3 separate regions of the Homo sapiens genome follow, and regions 1 and 3 are each linked to region 2. The links are contacts of gene promoters, found by promoter capture Hi-C in blood cells and fetal thymus (Javierre and others, 2016). All regions are on one chromosome and are shown on one strand. The core of a region is centred on a gene start or on the middle of the fragment in contact, and the rest is flanking DNA. Distances in the headings are between cores, read along the strand shown.

Region 1 (3,517 bases), core at 25-2,524, 300 kb after region 2:
GGTCTCGATCGCCCTGACGTTGTGATCCGCCTGCCTCAGCCTCCCAAAGTGCTGGGATTACAGGCACTAGCCAACTGATATTTTGTTGACTGAAGATTTCAAACACATACAAAGTCGGTCTAATGAACCCTACATATCTGTCATCCAGCTTCATCTCCCCACAGGCAATGTTATTAACACATTCATTCCCCTTTCCTGGAATTATTGTGTGTGTGTGTGTGTGTGTGTGTGTGTGTGTGTGTGTGTGTGTGTGTGTGTGTTTGAGACGGAGTCTCACTCTGTCACCCAGACTGGAATGCAGTGGCACTATCTCGGCTCACTGCAACCTCCGCCTCCCGGGTTCAAGCAATTCTCCTGCCTCAGCCTACCATGTAGTTGGAATTACAGGTGAGCGCCACCACGCCCAGCTAATTTCTGTATTTTTAATAGAGGGTTTCACCATGTTGCCCAAGCTGGTCTTGAACTCCTGACCTCAAGTGATCCACCTGCCTTGGCCTCCCTGGATTATTTTGAATCAATTTCTAGACATCATTTCTTTTCTCTAAAAAGACTGAACATGATACAATCATCACATCCAGGCCGGGCGCAGTGGCTCAAGCCTGTAATCCCAGCACTTTGGGAGGCCGAGGTGGGCGGATCACAAGGTCAGGAGATCGAGACCATCCTGGCTAACACGGTAAAACCCTGTCTCTACTAAAAATATAGAAAATTAGCTGGGCGTGGTGGCGGGCGCCTGTAGTCCCAGCTGCTTGGGAGGCTGAGGCAGGAGAATGGCATGAACCTGAGAGGCGGAGCTTACAGTGAGCTGAGATCGTGCCACTGCACTCCAGCCTGGGCGACAGAGCAAGACTCCGTCTCAAAAAAAAAAAAAATCACATCCAAAATTTTTAAAAATGTATTAGGAATCATATTCCTAATTTTCTAACTTTTTAAAATTTTTATTTCTTTTAGAGATGAGGTCTCCCTATGTTGCCAAGGCTGGTCTTAAACTCCTGGGCTCCCAAAGTGCTGGGATGACAGGTGTAAGCCACTGTGCCTGGCCCTAATTTTCTATTTTCTTAGCTTATTAGCTGAAATACTTCTGTAGAAAAATCTTCCTCTCTCAGGCCGGGCACAGTGGTTCATGCCTGTCATCCTGGCACTTTGGGATGCCAAGGCAGGCGGATCACCTGAGGTCATGAGTTGGAGACCAGCCTGGTCAACGTGGTGAAACCCCGTCTCTACTAAAAATACATTAGCCAGGCGTGGGGCACAAGCCTGTAATCCCAGCTACTCGGGGACTGAGGCAGGAAGATCACTTGAACCCAGGAGGTGGAGGTTGCAGTGAGCAGAGATCACGCCACTGCACTCCAGCCTGAGTGACAGAGGGAGACTTCGTCTCAAAAGAAAAATAGGGCCTGAGTTTCATTACCCTTCGCCATGCTGTTTGTCTCCAGCACACCCTCAGGAAAAGCTACTTGTGGAATAAGAGTCCTTGAGGCTGCAGGTCCCAGCTGGGGGGCTGTGGCCTCCCTGGTTGCAGGGGACAGCCTCAGGGCAGGGACAGCTGGCAGCCTTAGATCTGTGGGGAATAGGGAGAAGCCTGAGGACAAGGAAGGAATGAGTGAGGTTCAGGGCTGTTTAGGGATCCCACAGACACTCAGTGCTTAGAGACGATGCCAGATCTCACTCCCTCTCCGCTCTTCCCTCCTGCCCAACAGGCCTGCACAGAAACAAAGCTCTGCCTTCAAGGCCACCACTGCCCACCTGGGCTGGGCATAACTCCTGTCTTGAAGTGGCAGTGGGTGGTGCTTCACTCTTGAGAGAGTGGCTCCCTTGTCCAGAGGGCTCCCAGGTCTCTGCAACTGACCAGGGTTGAGGTAGTCTCACTTTTTCATTTTTCCTCCCTGCTTTCCTTGCTGGTAACTCCAATCTGATGTAGCTCCCGCCTCCTCATTTAAATTTTTATTTATTTTTCGTTTTGTCTTTGAGATAGGGCCCTTCAGTGGCACAATCACAGTTCATGTGCAGCCTTGAACTCCTGGACTCAAGCAATCCTCCACCTCCTGGGTTCAAGCAGTTCTCCTGCCTCAGCCTCCCGAGTAGCTGGGATTACAGACGCCCGCCACCACATCGGCTAATTTTTTGTATTTTTAGTAGAGATGGGGTTTCACCGTATTGTTCAGGCTGGTCTCAAACTCCTGACCTCAGGTGATCCACCTGCCTCGGCCTCCTAAAGCGCTGGGATTGCAGGCGTGGCCACCGCACCCAGCCTGGATGCTGATTTCTAAGTGATAGCCACTGCAGGAGTGGGTGAGGGGGACCAGGTCAGGTCATTTGCTCTGGGCCCACCCAGAGCTATCCGGCAGCCAGAGCCTCTTTCCTGCCACCCGAGTCTATTCAGCTCCCAGGAAGGAGGGGTCCTGAGTCCCAAGCTCTGCTTTCATCTGATTTGGCCTCAATTTGTCCCCATCATCTGCACTTCGTATACAGCCTTATCGCTGTGCACATTCTTGTTAACATCAGGGATTTTTTTGCTTTGTTTTTGTTTTTTGAGATGGAGTCTCACCCTGTTGCCCAGGCTGGAGTGCAATGGAGCAATCTCATCCCATTGCAACTTCCGCCTCCCAGGTTCAAGCGATTCTCCTGCCTCAGCCTCCCAAGCAGCTGGGACTGCAGGCGTGCACCACCGTATCTGGCTAATTTTTGTATTTTACTAAAGACGAAGTTTCATCATGTGGCCCAGGCTGGTCTCAAACTCCTGAGCTCTGGCAATCCACTCGCCTCGGCCTCCAACAGTACTAGATTACAGGTGTGAGCCACCACACCTGGCCAACATCAGGTTTAAGTTGCAAGTGGATCCCAAAATGCAGCAGATCAGAAAGAAAGTACAAAACAATACAGCGTTTACTAAGAAAAAATCTGCCTTTGCCCACTTTGCTCTCAACTCCTATACTTGCACCTAGTTTTCACTTATCAATTATTTTGTTATTTTTCTTTTTTTAGGCAGGATCGCAATCCCGGCTCACTGCAACCTCCACCTCCCAGGTTCAAGCAATTCTGCTGCCTCAGTCTCCTGAGTAGCTGGGACCACAGGCATGTGCCATCACGTCCTGCTAATTTTTGTATTTTTAGTAGAGATGGGGTTTCACCATGTTGCCCAGGCTGGTCTTGTACCCTCCCTGAGGTCAAGTGATCCACCCACGTCAGCCTCTCAAAGTGTTGGGATTACAGGTGTGAGCCACCGTGCCTAGACTTCAACAATTATTTGTTACGCATTTTCACTATACCAGGCCCTTGCCAGGTGTTAGGGATACAGCAAAGAAACCCAAATGGTTCCTCACAGTTTTCAGTCTAGATGTAAAGATACTAAACCAATACACTAATTATGTGCAATAATGCACAATGGTAATATTGAGTAAAGATTGGGTTATTGGCCAAGCATGGTGGCTCATGCCTGTAATCCCAGCACTTTGGGAGGCCAAAGCAAGATCGCCTGAGGTCAGGAGTTCAAGACCAAGCCTGGCCAACATGGTGA
Region 2 (3,395 bases), core at 43-2,542:
TATTATTATTATTATTATTATTTGAGATAGAGTTTTGCTCTTGTTGCCCCGACTGGAGTGCAATGGCATGATCTTGGCTCACTGCAACCTCCACATCCCAAGTTCAAGCGACTCTCCTGCCTCAGCCTCCCGAGTAGCTGGGATTACAGGCGTGCGCCACCATGCCCGGCTAATTTTGTATTTTTCATAGAGATGGGGTTTCACCATGTTGGCCAGGCTGGTCTCGAACTCCTGACCTCAGATGATAGCTCCCACCTTGGCCTCCCAAAGTGCTGGGATTACAGGCATGAGCCACCGTGCCCAGCTGTTTTTCTTCTATTATTATTGTTCTTGCAGGAGCTGGTAAAGTGGCTGATGTGGCCACAGCTCCATAAATCCATGTGGAACGAAGGGTGGACATCGCCTGAGTCCAGGAGACAGGACAGGGTCACTCATCTCTGTCCCTGGTGATGGAAACTCAGGCTCAGGAAAGAGCCTTGACCTGCCCTGGGTCACAGAGAGAATATGAGGGTCAGGGCTCAAGCCCAAGTGCTGTCTTCAGGCCCTTAGGCTGCCTCTCACACCCAGACTAGGAAGCTGGAGCAGAAAGTTTGCTAGAACAATCCTGAGAAGAGGCCTGCACAGTTCAAGGGGCAGCTTGGAGGAGGAGAGGAAGGGAGGGCGGGCTCTGGCCAGCAGGCTCTTGGACCTCAGGCCAGGCTCTGGCAGCTGCGTCTGGTATCAGGACTGCAGGTCCCGACAGGGGGCGGTGGCTCACGCTTGTATTCCCAGCACAGTCGCCAAGCCTAATGTCCCTTCCAACGGTGGAAAATTTTGGTAAAAATCAATGACAGGCTGGGCGTGGTGGTGCATGCCTGTGATTCCAGCTACTCAGGAGGCTGAGGCACGAGAATCTCTCGAACCCGGGAGGTCTAGGCTGCAGTGAGTGGAGATGGTGCCACTGTACTCCATCTGGACGACCGAGCAAGACTCTAACAACAACAACAAAAAAAACGGACTGCAGGTGCAGTGCCCAGCACAGAGCCTGCTACATAGGAATTCTCATTTTCTTCTCTTCCCTACTCTTTCCTTCCTTTATAATCTCTTCCTTTCCCTCTGAAGTACCGACCCCAGAGCTTGAGATCTCATCCCAGCCTCCCTCTTATTGCCATCCTCCCCTGCTGCCTTCCCCACACCCCTACCTCTCACAGGGTGGGGGTAGGGCCTCCTGGGACCCCAGTCCCAGCCCCAGCAGCAGTAGCAGGCACAGCTCCCAGGTCCTCCCTGGCATGGTGGCTGTGACTGTGACTGAATGAGCAAGCCCAGGCACCTTCGGCTTGCTGGGCACAGCCTGGCTCACCTGCCTGTCCAAGTCGGCCAAAGTCCAGCCTTTGAGGCGTGGCCACCTGAGGGGACGTGTGCTTGGTCTGTGTGTGGCCCGCTTGCCCCTCCTGCTCTCAGGGCACAGTGGCCACCTCCCTTGCTTCTACTTTGCCTCTTCTATTTCACAGTCTCAGCTGGTGCCAATGGCTCAGGCCCTTCCCTCAGAGCATGGTGGTGGGGGTGGGGAGTGGGCACCCAAAGGCCAGGGACACAGTCGAGGCCACACACCTGTAACCTGGATGCCAGGTTCCTTGGGTGGCCCCAAGACCACCAACCTCAGAGAGTTACCATTTCCCTTAACATTTCAAATGGAATGGCTCAAGATCCTGTCCCTGGTGTGGTGTGAAATTCAGGGCCTCTCACTGTTATCTGCAAGAGATACAGCGGAAGCACAGGACAGTAGAACCATTCTGTCTGGGGAGGACTAAGGGAGACCCACAATAGTGTGTCATTTGTAATGAGTCTTTTTTTTTTTTTTTTTGAGACTGAGTCTCACTCTGTCGCTAGGCTGGAGTGCAGTGGCGTGATCTCAGCTCACTGCCACCTCCGCCTCCCGGGTTCAAGCAATTCTCCTGCCTCAGCATCCTGAATAGCTGGGACTACAGGTGCCCGCCACCACGCCCAGCTAATTTTTGTATTTTTAGTAGAGACGGGGTTTCACTGTGTTGGCCAGGATGGTCTCAATCTCTTGACCTCATGATCTGCTCGCCTTGGCCTCCCAAAGTGCTGGGATTACAGGCGTGAGCCACTGCGCCAGTCCTAATGAGTCTTGATGACCGCATAGGAGTTTGCCAAGGGAAATGGGCTGGAGACCACTACAATGTATGCAGAGCATGTGAAGAGAAGAGCAAACCCCTCAGCCTAGCTGCAGAGAACTTGGTGTTCATGCAGGGAAGGGTTTTGAGATAGACTGGAGGAACATGTTGGCACCAGTCTGGAAATGGTCTTTGCCAAGCCAAGGAATGTAATTCCTTGTAATTCCCCAAAGTGGAACCAGCAGAGAAGTTTGTGAGCTTAAGAAGCAGATTCAGGCTGGGTGCAGTGGCTCATGCCTGTAATCCCACCACTTTGGGAGGCCGAGGCGGGTGGATCACCTGAGGTCAGGAGTTCAAGACCAGCCTGGCCAACATGGTGAAACCCCGTCTCTACAAAAATACAAAAATTAGCTGGGCATGATGGCGGGTACCTGTAATCCCAGCTCCTCAGGAGGCTGAGGTGGGAGAATCGCTTGAACTCGGGAGACAGAGGTTGTAGTGAGCCGAGATCATGCCACTGCACTCCAGCCTGGGCGACAGAGTAAGTCTCTGTCTCAAAAAAAAAAAAAAAAAAAAAAAAGCAGATTCGGTTACTTTAGGAGGCTCATCCCCTCAACATATGGAAGGTGAGCTGAAGGGACAGGGGACAGGGGGTGGGCAAGGCACATGGAGTTTAATGATAGGCATGACCTCTCCTGAAGGACTTAGGTTTGCAGTTAAGGATGTCAGTTGTGGCACCTGAGCAGTGTTTACTGCTATTAAAAAGAAAAACCTTAGACAAATTAAATTTAACCATTTATTCAAGCAAAGAAATGACTCATGAATCAGGCACCACTCTGAACTAGTAAAGGTTCAGATAGCTCCACCCAGTAATGTGGGCAGCTGGCATTGTTTTTTTTGTTTGCTTTGTTTTTTGAGACAGGGTCTCGCTCTGTTGCCCAGGCTGGCATGCAGTGGCTCCATCACAGCTCACTGCAGCCTTGATCTCTCAGGTTTAAGGGATTCTCCCACCTCAGCCTCCTGAGCAGCTGGGACCACAGGCACATGCCACCACGCCCAACTAATTTTTAAATTAAAAATAATTTTTTTTTTTTTAGAGATTGGGTCTCCCTATGTTGTCCAGGCTGGTGTGGAACTCCTGAGCTCAAGCAATCCTCCTGCCTCATCCTCCCAATGTATTGGGATTACAGGTGTGAGCCACCATGCCTGGTCAACAATTTTTAAGTGTACAATTCAATTTCCTTTTATTACATTCACAATGCTGTGCAACCACCCTTG
Region 3 (3,177 bases), core at 386-2,885, 270 kb after region 2:
TCATGTCTGTTGGCTGCATAAATGTCTTCTTTTGAGAAGTGTCTGTTCATATCCTTTGCCCACTTTTTGATGGGGTTTTTTTCTTGTAAATTTGTTTAAGTTCTTTGTAGATTCTGGATATTAGCCCTTTGTCAGATGGGTAGATTGCAAAAATTTTCTCCCATTCTGTAGGTTGCCTGTTCACTCTGATGGTAGCTTCTTTGCTGTGCAGAAGCTCTTTAGTTTAATTAGATCCCATTTGTCTATTTTGGCTTTTGTTGCCATTGCTTTTGATGTTTTAGTCATGAAGTCCTTGCCCATGCCTATGTCCTGAATGGTATTGTCTAGGTTTTCTTCTAGGGTTTTTATAGTTTTAGATCTAACATTTATGTCTTTAATCCATCTTGAATTAATTTTTGTATAAGGTGTAAGGAAGGGATCCAGTTTCCGCTTTCTACATATGGCTAGCCAGTTTTCCCAGCACCATTTATCAAATAGGGAATCCTTTCCCCATTTCTTGTTTTTGTCAGGTTTGTCAAAGATCAGATGGTTGTGAGACAGGTTTTATACCCTTTAATTTTTTTTTTTTTTTTTTTTGAGACGGAGTCTGGCTCTGTTGCCCAGGCTGGAGTGCAGTGGCGTGGTCTCGGCTCACTGCAACTACTGCCTCCCAGGTTCAAGCAATTCTCCTGCCTCAGCCTCCCGAGTAGCTGGGATTACAGGCACCTGCCACCATGCCCAGCTAATTTTTTGTATTTTTAGTAGAGACGGCATTTCACCATGTTGGCCAGGCTGATCTCGAACTCCTGACCTCGTGATCTGCCCACCTCAGCCTCCCAAAGTGCTGGGGTTACAGGCATGAGCCACCATGCCTGGCCTGGTTTTATACCCTTTTTACAGCAGAGGAAGCTGAAGCTCAGAGCAGTTAGTGAGGTATGTAACTTGGCAAAAGTCACAAAGCTGGAAGAAGATTTGGGGTAAGTGGTTGTATCAGAGGCTACTTTTTTTTTTTTTTTTTTTTTGAGACAGTTTCACTCTTGTTGCCCAGACTGGAGTGCAATGGCGCAATCTCCACCTCCCGGGTTCAAGCGATTCTCCTGCTTCAGCCTTCCAAGTAGCTGGGATTACAGGCATGTGCCACCACGCCTGGCTAATTTTGTATTTTTAGTAGAGACAGGGTTTCTCCATGTTGGTCAGGCTGGTCTCGAACTCCCGATCTCAGGTGATCCACCCTCCTCGGTCTCCCAGAGTGTTGGGGTTACAGGCGTGAGCCACCACGCAGGGCGGCTACATTTTTTAAAATGGAGCATTCAAGTCTCCTCCAACCCTGAATGACTGGTATTTTCTCATCCTCACAGCATTTTCCAGCCTCAGGTCTCAAGGATAGAGGTGCCACCACTTCCCAATGGACCAACATTTGGTGAGCACCGCATCTTACCTCCAAATCCAATCCTCCAGGACTCCCCCATCCCTGGCTGTTCCTAGGATTATGACAATGATCTCCAGCATTTCTTCCACACCTTTATTTTAAACCATTTTTACACCTGTCACATAGTTTGACCTCCTGAGTAAGGAAGGGGTCTTCTCTTTATATACTTTATTTCCAGCTCTGTCACCCAGGCTGGAGTGCAGTGGTGCAATCATGGCTCACCAAAGCCTCAGACTCCTGGGCTCAAGCCATCCTCCCGCCATAGCCTCCCAAGTAGCTGGGACTGGAGGCATGTGCCACCATGCCCAGCTCATTGTTTTTTTGTTGTTGTTGTTTGTTTGTTTTTTGAGATGGAGTTTCGCTCTTGCTGCCCGTGCTGGAGTGTAATGGCATGATCTCAGTTCACTGCAACCTCCATCTCCCGGGTTCAAGTGATTCTTTTTTGTATTTAGTAAAGAGGGGATTTCACCATGTTGGTCAGGCTGGTCTTGAACTCCTGACCTCAGGTGATCCACCCAACACAGCCTCCAAAAGTGCTAGGATTACAGGTGTGAGCCACCACCCTGGCCTGTTTTGTTTTTGTTTTTGAGACGGGGTCTCGCACTGTCACCCAGGCTGAAGTGCAATGGTGGGACCTCGGCTCACTGCAACCTCCGCCTCCCGGGTTCACACAATTCCCCTGCCTCAGCCTCCCAAGTAGCTGGGATTACAGGCGCACACCACCATACCTGCTAATTTTTTGTATTTTTAGTAGAGACGGGGTTTCGCTATGTTGGCCAGACTGGTCTCGAACTCCTGACTTTATAATCTGCCCGCCTCAGCCTCCCAAAGTGCTGGGATTACAGGCGTGAGCCACCGTGCCCAGGCTTTTTTTTTTTTTTTTTTAATAGAGAAGAGATGTCACTATATCACCCAGGCTGGTCTTGAACTCCTGGGCTCAAGCAATCTTCCCACCTTGGCTTCCCAAAGTGCTGGGATTACAGGCTGTGAGCCACAGCGCCTGGCCATAATTTTTTTTTCAGTTTTGTAGAGATGGAGCCTTGCTGCGTCACAAGGCTGGTCTCAAACTCCAGGTCCCAAGTGATCCTCCTACTTCAGCCTCCCAAAGTGCTGAGATGACAGGCATGTGTCACTGTGCCTGGTGAGTCTGCCATTTTTTATTTCATTTTATTGAGATGGAGTCTCACTCTGTTGCCTAGGCTGGAGTGCAGTGGCATGATTTCAGCTCACTGCAAGTTCCACCTCCTGGATTCAAGCGATTCTCCTGCCTCAGCCTCCCAAGTAGCTGGGATTACAGGCATGCATCACCACACCCGGCTGATTTTTGTATTTTTAGTAGAGACAGGGTTTCACCATGTTGGCCAGGCTGGTCTCAAACTCCTGACCTCAGGTAATCCACCCGCCTCGGCCTCCCAAACTGCTGGGATTACAGGCGTGAGCCACCGCACCTGGCCAAGTCTTCCATTTTAAATGTGAGAACATTGAAGTCCACCTAAAGTTACATGGTATCTCATCAACAAGAGGACAGTAGCTGCCATCAGAGGCTGACATGGCCATGCAGCCAAGTAGACATGTTTTTCTAATTGACTGGGAGGCAGAGAGTGGCACTCTGGAAGGAGAACCCTGGGCATGTCAGACGGACCTGGGTTCTGATCCCAGCTCTCCTGGTTGAAGAACTGCCATAGTTCAAGTGAAAAAAAAAAAAAAAAAAAAAAGGTGCCACAGTCCAGAAAGAAGTTTGTTTTAGGAGATAGTCTTCTAGGCTGAGC

The links. Contacts are between HindIII fragments. The CHiCAGO score rates a contact against its expected background, and 5 or more counts as called.
Region 1: a contact is called between a fragment that was not itself captured here and the fragment with the promoter of TREH in region 2, in 1 of 17 cell types (naive CD4 T cells). The highest score is 6.4, in naive CD4 T cells.
Region 3: a contact is called between a fragment that was not itself captured here and the fragment with the promoter of TREH in region 2, in 12 of 17 cell types (non-activated CD4 T cells, naive CD8 T cells, naive CD4 T cells and 9 more). The highest score is 17.1, in non-activated CD4 T cells.

The regions. Positions count from the first base shown.
Region 1 is chr11:118,983,333-118,986,849 of GRCh38, forward strand. No RefSeq gene overlaps it. Among named protein-coding and RNA genes, the nearest start is that of CENATAC-DT, 13 kb to the right of the region's middle. The HindIII fragment of the contact is 5,393 bases long and covers 1-3,517 here.
Region 2 is chr11:118,678,358-118,681,752 of GRCh38, forward strand. TREH (trehalase) reads right to left here and starts at 1,293. Exons shown (of 15, transcript NM_007180.3): 1 at 1,182-1,293. The coding sequence starts at 1,270. RefSeq lists enhancers at 523-1,184, 1,185-1,844. The HindIII fragment of the contact is 8,736 bases long and covers 1-3,395 here.
Region 3 is chr11:118,949,867-118,953,043 of GRCh38, forward strand. No RefSeq gene overlaps it. Among named protein-coding and RNA genes, the nearest start is that of UPK2, 4.8 kb to the right of the region's middle. The HindIII fragment of the contact is 6,551 bases long and covers 1-3,177 here.